Linked DNA regions of Homo sapiens: region 2 is linked to region 1. Evidence: promoter capture Hi-C in 16 types of primary human blood cells and fetal thymus (Javierre and others, 2016). All regions are on one chromosome and are shown on one strand. Each heading gives the region's core, a stretch centred on a gene start or on the middle of the fragment in contact. The rest is flanking DNA. Distances are from core to core; before and after follow the strand shown. Region 1 holds the start of RAB8A (RAB8A, member RAS oncogene family). Region 2 overlaps EPS15L1 (epidermal growth factor receptor pathway substrate 15 like 1).

Evidence for each region. Contacts are between HindIII fragments. The CHiCAGO score rates a contact against its expected background, and 5 or more counts as called.
Region 2: a contact is called between a fragment that was not itself captured here and the fragment with the promoter of RAB8A in region 1, in 1 of 17 cell types (naive CD8 T cells). The highest score is 5.5, in naive CD8 T cells.

What each region holds. Positions count from the first base shown.
Region 1 is chr19:16,109,017-16,114,663 of GRCh38, reverse strand. It overlaps RAB8A (RAB8A, member RAS oncogene family), which reads right to left and starts at 2,775. Exons shown (of 8, transcript NM_005370.5): 1 at 2,639-2,775. The coding sequence starts at 2,762. RefSeq lists a silencer at 2,733-3,392. The HindIII fragment of the contact is 12,373 bases long and covers 1-5,646 here.
Region 2 is chr19:16,389,458-16,395,104 of GRCh38, reverse strand. It overlaps EPS15L1 (epidermal growth factor receptor pathway substrate 15 like 1), which reads left to right. Exons shown (of 24, transcript NM_001258374.3): 18 at 1,104-1,154; 19 at 2,665-2,801. Among named protein-coding and RNA genes, the nearest start is that of KLF2, 67 kb to the right of the region's middle. The HindIII fragment of the contact is 3,769 bases long and covers 185-3,953 here.

The sequences.
Region 1 (5,647 bases), core at 1,526-4,025:
GTAATCCCAGCACTTTGGGAGGCCAAGGTGGGCGGTCACGAGGTCAGGAGTTCGAGACCAGCCTGGCCAACATGGTGAAACCCCATCTCTACTAAAAAAAAAAAAAAAAAAATACAAAAATTAGCTGGGCATGGTGGCAGGTGCTTGTAATCCCAGCTACTTGGGAGGCTGAGACAGGAGAATCGCTGGAACCTGGGAGGTGGAAGTTGCAGTGAGCCGAGATCGCGCCACTGCACTCCAGACTGGGTGACAAAGAGAGACTGTCTCAAAAAAAAAAAAAAAAAAAGAGGGGGGTTTGTGGGGAAGGCTGGGAAACTGGGATCTGAGTGAATGCAAGCCAGTCTGCTCACAGTTAACATCATTTCTTTCTTTCTTTTATTTTTATTATTATTTTTTAAGACAGGGTCTCGCTCTGTTGCCCAGGCTGGAGTGCAGTGACACCATCACAGCTCACTGCACCTTGACCTCCTGGGCTCAATCGATCCTCCCACCTTGGCCTCCCAAGTGGCTGGGTCTACATGGGTGAGCCACTGTGCCCGGCTGATTTTATTTTATTTTTTGTAGAGATGGGGTTTGCCATGTTGCCCAGGCTGAATTAACGCCACTTCTTGATTGGTTGGAGCACAAGAATTACCCTAAAGTTTAGCCTTGGAGTGGGGGAGGGGGAAGAATTCAGAAACATCTGTCTTCAGAGGCTGGATGCTGTCACTGCAGGAGCCATTCATTTGCTTCCTCTAGATAGCCTCTGGTTGTGGTGACAACCCCTTATTGTCTAATTCTAATCCTCAACCACCAGGGCACTAGGCTGGGCAGACAGTGTCACTCCTGCTCTAAAGACAGCAGGGCTCAGAGAGGGGTAGTGCACATTCAAGGGCAAACAGCAACTGGAAACCAGACGTAATGATTTCCAGTCAATTCTCTCTATTTTACATCTGGCATATAACTGTTTTATAAAGCACAGCTCCGCTGGGTGCGGTGGCTCATGCTTGTAATCCCAGCACTTTGGGATGCCAAGGCAGGCAGATCACAAGGTCAGGAGTTCGAGACCAGCCTGACCAACACAGTGAAACCCTGTATTTACTAAAAATACAAAAATTAGCTGGACGTGGTGGCGGGTGCCTATAATCCCAGCTACTAGGGAGGCTGAGGCAGGAGAATTGCTTGAACCCGGGAGGCAGAGGTTGTAGTGACCCGAGATCCTGCCGCTGGATTCCAGCCTGGGCAAAAGAGCTAGACTCCGTCTCAAAAAATAAAATAAAATAAAATAAATAAAGCATAGCTCCTGGAGGAGGGCAAGAATGGAATTAGCACATTATCTTGGGGTTCAGGGAGATAACACGATTCTGTCAAAGTGACACAGTAAAGCAAAGGCCATTCCCTAGGTTTTCTTGAGTCGGAATAAACTCCTGGACTTAGTGACCGTTCCCCCACTTTCCCCATCCCTAGCAGGGCTACAGAGCTCACAAGCCACTCAAATAGGTGTTACTCCTGGGTCAAACCTTTTCATTGTGGGCCAGGACTGCTTTTGTGGCACTGAGAGAGGTCAGCTCCACTTCTGTGGACATCACAACTGAGATGCACCAAGCCAATTCTGTTCAACCACAATGTGGGCTGGCCCTACAGGAAAAGCTGTTCTAAAGTGACAGCTGGAGTCTTGGGCCCTTTGATAGGGAAGTCAAGGCTGTCTGTGGCAGTGGCTGATTTAGTTTCTCGCTGAGGCTTTTATCTTGCATCTTCTTGGGGATGACAGGTCCCAGGGCAGGCAGTGCTGTCACTTGCCATTGCTGTCATTCCTGGAGCAGGATGAAAGGTGGGCAGGGAAAAGGTCCTGACTCTTCTTATCATTCCTTCTAGAGGAAAATACGCTTATGAGGGGAAGCATGGTCAGGGAGAGGGGCTCAACCTCTGAACGCTCCAGAGAAAAGAGCAGGAATGGTGTGGGTTAGAGTCCCGGCTCCAAGGTGCATTAGCTGAGCTTGTCATCAGCTGGGAGTGTGCAGTGGCATCTCTCTAGGAGAGCTAAGCCTCGAGTTTTGGGTTGAGACACAGCCAGGTTCAAATTCCATCAAATCCCATTCTCACCACGTGCAGACTGTGTGGCCTTGGGCAAGTTCCATGCCCTCCCTGAGCCTCAGATTCCTCATCTTGTCAGACGGGCTCATAACAGCACTTAACACCAAGAACTGAAGAGTGTGAAAATGCACGTGAAGCACTTGGCACATAGTAAATGCTCATTAAGGTGAGATGCCACTGTCTTTTTCCCATGGCCAATTCCCCATGACTCAGTTTCCACTTCTGTAAGGCAAGAGCCTCAAAAGAACCGCTTCGAGGGCTGCTGCTAGGACAGATCGAGAGGACGGGCGCGAAGACCCCAGCCCAAGACATAACACGCCCTAACGAGCGGGCTGAGGGTCGGAGCCTCAGTCTCCCTATCTGCAAAATGGGCACCTGGTCTCCCCCACCACGGCCCAGGAACCCCCGAACGGCGGTGCAGGCGACTGCTCTTCTCCCTTTAGGCCCCCTCGACCCTCTCAGCGCCCTCGGCCCGTCCAGCCCTGTAGATCCCTCAGCCCCAGCCCCTCAGGGGCGCGCCCAGCCCGGGCCTCCGGCGCCCCCAGCCATTCCCCGGTCCCGTTACCTATGGTGGAGATAAAAGTGGAGTTGAAGGCGTCCTCGGAGAAGCGGAACAGGACACAGGTCTTCCCCACCCCCGAGTCCCCGATCAGCAGCAGCTTGAACAGGTAATCGTAGGTCTTCGCCATATTACACTCTCTCCCCGACGGGAAGTGCGGCCAGCGCCTCTCCACTGGCCACCAGCACCGTCCATCAGCACCGAGCCCGCCCCTTATTGGCTCCAGGCCCGCTGCGCGTCACCGCGGCCGACGCCCGCCCCTGCGTCCCGCCAGTCGCGGGGAGACCTTGGGAGGGGGCGAGCGGAGCGCGGAGCCGGAAGCAGCCCGAGCGCACCTCCCATTGGCCGGCACTAGGGAGAGCACGGGCTCTGATTGACCAGCAGTGAAGAGTCGCGGGGCTTCAAATGGGGACGAGGCGGGGGCGTGGCATTATGTGGCCCCCGCCTTCCACCCCCGACTCGGGCGGCCCGGCCCCGCCCCACTGTAGGAGAGGGAAGGCAGGGAGCGGCGCCAACCGCTCGCGCGCCGGCAGCCTGGCGGGGCGTGGCTTGGGGTGCGTGCGCACGCGCGCCCGGAGTTCCGTTAGGCGACAGCAGAGGGCGCACGCCAGTAGTTGGGGCGGGTGTCTCTGGGTCCCGCCCTCACAGCTCGCGCAGGCGCAGTAGGCACCGAGGCGAGCGCGGGAAAGCAAGGTAGCGCTCTCAGCCTTGTCTGCGGCCTGCGAGTCGGGGCAGTGGGGGCCTAGGGAGGAAGGAGAGAGGAGGAGCTGTATACTCGAAAAGTGACCCAAGCCGGACGCGGTGGTTCACGCCTTTAATTCCCACACTTTGGGAAGCCGAGGCGCGTGGATCACGAGGTCAGGAGTTCAAGACCAGCCTGGCCAAGATGGTGAAACCCCGTTTCTACTAAAAATACAAAAATTAGCCGGGCGTGGTGGCGGGCGCCTGTAATCCCAGCCACTCGGGAGGCTGAGGCAGAGAATTGCTTGAATCTGGGAGGCGGAGCTTGCAGTGAGCCGAGATCGCGCCATTGCACTGCAGCGTGGGCGACAGAGAGAGACTCCGTCTCAAAAAAAATAAATAAAAGTGACCCAAGACGAGCTCCGAGGTCTGCGGCCTAGCGATCTGCTTAGAGATACCCAAGGCCTCCGCCATCTGAGCGGCTTCACCGCCACAAGCTGTGCCCGGAAGCGCGCGCCGGCCTCCTCAGGGCCCGCCCTCGGCCACCTTAGGGGTTGTCCGGGCCAGCCCGGGGATGGTGGGGGGGGAGGGGTTAGAGCAGTGAGGATGCTGGGTCCTATCTAGGGGCCAGGGCTCTCAACGTTGAAAAAACTGGCCGGGGCGTTGGCTCCCGTCTGTGATCCCAGTGCTTTGGGAAGCCAGGAGGTTGAGGGTGCAGTAAGCCGTGATCGCCCCACTGCAATTCGGCCTGGGCGACAGAGCAAGACCCTATCAAAAGAAAAAAAGGCTGGGCGCGGTGGCTCAGGCCTGTAATCCCGCACTTTGGGAGGCCGAGGCGGGCGGATCAGGAGGTCAGGAGATCGAGACCATCCTGGCTAACGCGGTGAAACCCCGTCTCTACTAAAAACACAAAAAATTACCCGGGAGTAGTGGCGGGCGCCTGTAGTCCCAGCTACTCGGGAGGCTGAGGCAGGAGAATGGTGTGAACCCGGGAGGCGGAGCCTGCAGTGAACCGAGATCGCGCCACTGCACTCCAGTCTGGGCGACAGAATGAGACTACGTCTCAAAAAAAAAAAAAAAAAAAAAAAGAAAGAGAAAAACAGAGGAGAGATACATTTGGAAAATCGGGCTTGCAGCTGGGTGTGGTGGCTCAGGCCTGTAATCCCAGCACTTTGGGAGTCAGCACTTTGGGAGGCAGGAGGATTGCTTGAGCTTAGGAGGTCAAGACCAGCCCGGACAAGATAGGGAGATCCCCATCTCTACAACAAATAAAATTAGCTGGGCGTCATGGTGCACGCTTGTAATCCCAGCACTTTGGGAGGCTGAGGTGGAGGTTCATTGGAGGCCAGGAGGTGGAGACCAGCCTGGGCAACATAGCAAGACCTCCATCTCTGCAAAAAAAAAAAAGTTTTTTGGCCAGGCGAGGTGGTTCACACCTGTAATCCCAGCACTTTGGGAGGCCAAGGCAGGTGGATCACCTGAGGTCAGGAGTTCCAGACCAGCCTGGCCAACATGGTAAAACACCATCTCTGCTAAAAATACAGAAACTAGGCAGGTGTGGTCATGTGCGCCTGTAGTCCCAGCTACTCAGGCGGCTGAGGCACCAGAATTGCTTGAATCTGGGAGGCGGAGGTTGCAGTGAGCCGAGATTGTGTCACTGCATTCCAGCCTGGGTGACAGAGCAAGGCTCCATCTCAAAAAACAAAAAATTTTTTTAAAAAATTAGCCAGGTATGGTGGTGTATGCTTGTAGTCCCAGCTACTCAGGAGGCTAAGGTGGGAGGATCCCTTGAGCCCAGGAGGTCAAGGCAGCAGTGAGCTGTGATCGCACCATTGCACTCCAGCCTGGGCGACGGAGCAAGACCCTGACTTTTTTTTTTTTCTGAGATGGAGTCTCTCACGGTCACCAGGGCTGGAGTGCAATGGCGCGATCTTGGCTCACTGCAACCTCTGCCTCCCGGGTTCAGGCGATTCTCCTGCCTCAGCCTCCCAAGTAGCTTGGATTCCAGGCACCCACCACCACGCCTGGTGTGGTGTATTTTTTTGTATTTTTAGTAGAGATGGGGTTTCACTGTGTTGGCCAGGCTGGTCTCGAACTCCTGACCTCGTGATCCGCCTGCCTCCACCTCCCAAAGTACTGGGATTACAGGCGTGAGCCCCTGCACCCGGCCCCTGACTCTTAAAATTTTAATCCCAGTACCAGCCCAGCAAAACGATGTTATTGTTTTTTTCCTGTTTAATGGTGAGAAAACTGAAGCCAGAGGAGGTTAAGTGACTTTTCCCCCTTCCTGCTTAAAAGTGGGAATTTGGTATCTGAACTCAGAGTGCCAAGCTT
Region 2 (5,647 bases), core at 820-3,319, 280 kb before region 1:
TCCTGCCTCAGCGCCCATCACCGCACCCGGCTAATTTTTGTATATTTAGTAGAGTTGGGGTTTCACTGTGTTGCCCAGTCTGGTCTCGAACTCTTGACCTCAGGTAATCCACCCGCCTCAGCCCCACAAAGTGCTGGGATTACAGGTGTGAGGCACCGCACCCAGCAGGAACGCCTTTTAAGCTTCTTATCTCACCCTGTTAACCAGAGAGCCAAGGCATCAAGATACAGTGGGAAGTGTTCCAAGCTCACCACAAGACCCACATTTGAAGGCAGCTTGGCCAGCCCCCTTGAACCCTTCAGTACTTCAGTTTCCTAATCCCTCAGCAGGTTAATAAATTTCCTCCTTGCTCACCTCACAGGGTTGATAAAATAATCAGAGCTAGTAATGATCATGAAAGTACCTGGAAAACCATGGATTCCTACATAAACCTAAGGTCTGGATAATTTTAGGAGTCTGTCCAGAGCCACACCTGAGTCAAGAATAACTAAGAATTCCAGAAACAAGATTTCCAAGTTTCTGTCCATGTTTCAGAGCAAAACAGTATTTCCAGGAGGAAGGCTCTCTACATTTTTGAGAAAAACACTGAGGTGGGGAGAGGGCAGCGGGAGCTTGAGCTTCAGCTTGGGTTTGAAGCCTGCCGGGTCTGAGAGGCGAATCTGGCAGCCCCTGAAGCCCAGGGGTGCCGCCGCCTCATTGCTGCAGGGCCGGTGATAAAGTGAGGGACAGCCCAGGGTCCTGTGTCCTCTTACCCAGGGAGCTGGCAGGCAGATGGGATAAAGGAAACCCAGCATGGGAAGAGAGGAGTGAATTCTAGCCCACTCTGTGTCTTCCCCAACTCCAGTCTGTGTGGGACAGCCAGCAGTACCTTCCTTCTCATCTTAAACATCCTAGCCAGAAACAGCTGCCTCCTCCAGGTCCCCCTCTTTGATTTGCCAAGGTTTTGAGGGCAGGTGGATAGTAGAGAAGGAACTAACATTCTCTCCCTACACTGGAGGAGTAGAAGGCAATGAAAGGCTTGGGAGGTGGGTGGCTGTGTCCAAGGGCCCGGCCCGCATCCTGTGCCCTAGAGCTAATAAGCATTTCTCTCCTCTTCCAACCAGGCGACCCGTTCCAGAATGACCCCTTTGCAGAACAGCAGACAACTTCAACAGGTAAAATTCAGTGTTTCCCGGACCGGTCTTTAGACTGTGTCCAGTCCTGGCTCAGAAGTCGCATGTGGTGGGACTTGTGTCCACATACACCGGGGATGGCAGCCATGTAACTGGGAAGGACGGCCGTCCATCCATGTTGTACCCATTCTCGGTCCCGTTCCCTTCTGGAGGTGGCTCCCCTCCCCAGGTCCAGTCACTGCCCGCACCCCACCCTGGAGTGTGGTGGGATCACATTGCTTGCTAATTTATTTATTTATTTTATTTATTTATTTATTTATTTATTTTTTATTTTTTTTTTTTTTGAGACGGAGTCTCGCTCTGTCGCCCAGGCTGGAGTGCAGTGGCGCGATCTCGGCTCACTGCAAGCTCCGCCTCCCGGGTTCACGCCATTCTCCTGCCTCAGCCTCCCAAGTAGCTGGGACTACAGGCGCCCGCTACCACGCCCGGCTAATTTTTTGTATTTTTAGTAGAGACGGGGTTTCACCGTGTTAGCCAGGCTCGTCTCACACTCTTGACCTCAGGTGATCTGCCCACCTTGGTCTCCCAAAGTGCTGGGATGACAGGCGTGAGCCACCATGCCCGACCGATTTATTTTTTTTCAGGTGAAATTTATGTAACATAAAAGTCACTGTTTTAAAGCATCCAATTCAGTGGTATTGAGCACACTCACAGTGTTGTGCAATGATCACCTTCATCTAGTTCCACAACATTCTCATCCCCCCAAAAGGAGACCCCATCCCAATCAGCAGTCACTCCCCATTCCCTCCCGCAACCCCTGGCACCCACCAACCTATTTTCTGTCTCTATGGATTTACCTGCGTTGTTTATTATTATTATTATTATTATTATTATTATTATTATTATTATTATTATATCCAGCTCCTGCAGGATATTTTATTTATTTATTTAGAGATGGGGTTTTACTCTATTGCCTAGGCTGGAGTGCAGTGGCGCAATTATAGCTCACTGCAGCCTTGACCTCCTGGGCTCAAGCAGCCTTTCTGCCTCAGCCTCCTTAGTAGCTGATACTACAGGCGTGTGCCACCACACCTGGCTAATTTTTTATTTTATTTTTCTCTGTGTTGCCCATGCTGGTCTTGAACTCCTGGCCTCAAGTGATCCTCCTATCTCAGCCTCCTAAAGTGATGGGATTACAGGCATGAGCCATTGTGCCTGGCCAGGATATTATTATTTTTAAAGTCAATTTTATTGAGTGGCATAATTTACACAGAACAAAATTCACCCATTTTACTATGTAATAAGATGAGTTTCATTAAATATGCACGGTTGTGTGCAATTTGAGAACACTTCTGTCATTCCTGAGGCCCCTTTGTTGTCACCCTCCACCCTCTCCTCAGGGTCCCCTGGCCACCATTATCCTGTTTTCCGTCACTAGCGTTCTTACCTTTCTAGAATTTCATGTAAACGGCATCATTCTGTGATGTGTTCTTTTATGTCTGGGTTCTTTCACTTGGTATAATGTTTACTTATGGGGCATTTTTCCTTCTAGATCCATTTGGAGGGGACCCTTTCAAAGAAAGTGACCCATTCCGTGGCTCTGCCACTGACGACTTCTTCAAGAAACAGACAAAGAATGACCCATTTACCTCGGATCCATTCACGAAAAACCCTTCCTTACCTTCGAAGGTGAGTGGGGTGGGACGTTGCCCGGGAGAGCTGCGTGCCTGCTCTGTGTGGTAAGGGTGGCGCTTCCCGAAGGCCCCCTTCCCTTCGTGGAGCGTACATGGTGCCTGCGAGTGTGGGCCATGGTGTCTGTTCTCCGGGAGCTGGTATCCCAGGCTGATTTCATTCCTGCTGAGTGAGGGAGCTCACTGGCCTAGTCACTGCAGTGACATCCTGTGAGCCCCAAGGTGCAGTTAGCAGTCCAGTGGCCCCACATCAGGGCAAGGAGGATGTCACCCATAGTTCTTATTTCTCTATCCCCATTCCTACCCCTCAACTCTAGTCATCTGCCCCCACTGCCCCTTCATCTCCCAAAAAAGACTAAATCACACAAGCACCACATGCTCGCATGGACCCGGCCACCCTGCACGGTCCTTGTAACACACAGCACTGGTGGGGACCTTAGAGTCACGTTTGGTAGGTGCTCCCGTCACGGCAGGAGTAAGTGCAGGCGTCTCAGCCCGGCTGCCTTGCCTGGTGTCTCCTGAGAGCATCAGCCAACTCTGACCCTCCAGTTTCCAACTCCAGCATACCTGTACTCCCATCCCCGGGCGTGGCAGACACCGGGTATTTTGCATATTATGCCCAAGAGATTGGGTTAAATAGGTGTCAACTTGGATTTCAAAACCAAAAAAAAAAAAAAAAGCAGCCTCGGTGATGGAGCAGAGGATGTTCATGATGGAGTGAGCGTGCTTCATAGCCTTCTTCCGTTTTCTAGGCTGCAACCCAGGCCCGGGGCCTGCTCAGAGACGGGCACTCACCCTCCTTCTCAGGGCTCCTGCTACCCTGGCGCCCACCTCGCTCACTCCCTGTGGACCTTTTGGTCTTTAGCGCTTGAAGCTCCTTGAAGGCAAAGACTCATTTGCAGTATTTTCTTATTGGCCCCTTTTTAATGTCCTTAAGACCTGTAGTGAGAATTTCCCTAGCATTCCTGGTATTGGTGATCTGTTTACCAATTTCATTGACCTTTCCCATAACCAGCTTTTGGCTTCATTTTTCTCTACTGCTTGTTTTCTATTTCATTGATTTTCTCTTTTCTATTTCTATTTTTTTCCATTTCCTTACTCCTATTTATTTGGGGTTACTTTGCTCTTCTAACATCTTAAGATCCAAGCTTCATTCATTAATTTTAGACTTCATTTTCTAGTACTGGCGGTCCCTGACTTACGATGGTTCAATTTACAGTTTTTTGACTTTACAATAGTTTTATCGAGATGCAGTCCCATCATAAGTCAAGGAGTGTCTGGACTTAACATTGGTTTGACTTCTGATTTTTTGCTTTGTGATGGGTTTATTGGGATATTACGTACATTTTCAACTTAAAATATTTTCAACTTACAATGGGTTTATCAGGATGTAACCCCATGGTAAGTCAAGGAGCATCTGTATAAATTTAAAGCAACATATTTCCCTTAAGCACTGCTTTACATGTATTTCATATATTTGAATACTTTATCTCTTCATTGCCATTCAGTTTTGAGATATTTTCCAGTTTCCCTTGTGAATTCTGTTCACTTATGGATTACTTAAAAGTATGTTGTTTCATTTCCAGATACTTGGCTTTTTCTCCTAGGTATATTATAATACTATTATTATTGATTTTTAATTAAATTTGTTATTTGAGAACATATTCTGTATGTTTTCAATACCTTCACATTAATCAAGGGTTGTTGTTTGTGGCCTATGTTGGTGAACAAACCATGTACACTTGAGAAGAATGTGTATCTAGTTGTTGGGTGTAATGCTCTACAAATGGCAGTGAGGTTGAGGTTCCTCATAGTGTTCAGATTATCTGTGTCTTGTTTGTTTGTTTTTTAGTCCTACCAGTGTCTGAGAGAGAGGCGTTAAACATTCTCCTATGATTGTGGAATTGTTCATACTGCACTTTAATTTGATCAAGTTTTGCTTTGTGTATTTTGAAGCTTTGTCAGGTGCATAGGTGTTTATGATTGTTGTGTCTTTCTGACACAACAACCTTTTTATCATTATAAAAGATTCCCATTTGATCTCTGGTGATGTTCTTTGTCTTGAAGTCTGTTTAATCACTTCATTCTCCTCATGTTATTCACTACATGATACATCATTTTTCAACCATTTACTTTCAACTTACCTGGATCTTTAAAACTGATAGGTGTCTTTTGTAAGTAGCATAGTGTTGGGGCTTGCTTTTTTTTTTAAAATCCAGTCAGAAGTCCCTGCCTTGTAAGTGTAATGTTTAGTCCATTAACATTTAATGTAATTATTGATATGGTTTAAGTCTACTATTTTATTATTTGCTTGCTTTTTATCCCATGTTTTGTTTCCTGCTTTCTTTTGAATTGTTTGAATGTTTTTTTGAATTCTGTCTATTGGCCTTTTATTATTTTAATCATACCTCTTTTAATGATTGTTTAGAGGTTGCTTTAGGAAATATCATGTACAGCTTTAACTTTTCATAGTCTACTTGAGGTTAGTATTGTATTATCTCATGTAAAATATAGAAAACTTGCAACCATGTAGGTCCATTTGTCCACCCACCCTTGCAGCCAGCATGTCTTATGTTATAGCCGTCATGTGAATTTCATACATCTAAATACATTAGAAACTCCATAAGACTGTTACAATTTTTGTATTAATCCATTGTGGGTATTGTAAAGAAAGAGGAAAAAAGTAGTCATTTAGTTTTACCCAAATATGTACCATTTCTGATACTCTTCATTTGTTACTGAAGATTGGTTTTCCCTCCATTATCATTTTCCTTCAGCCTAAAGAACTTTCTTTAGCACTTCTTATAGCTCAGGTCGACTGTGTTGTCATTTTTTTATTTTTAG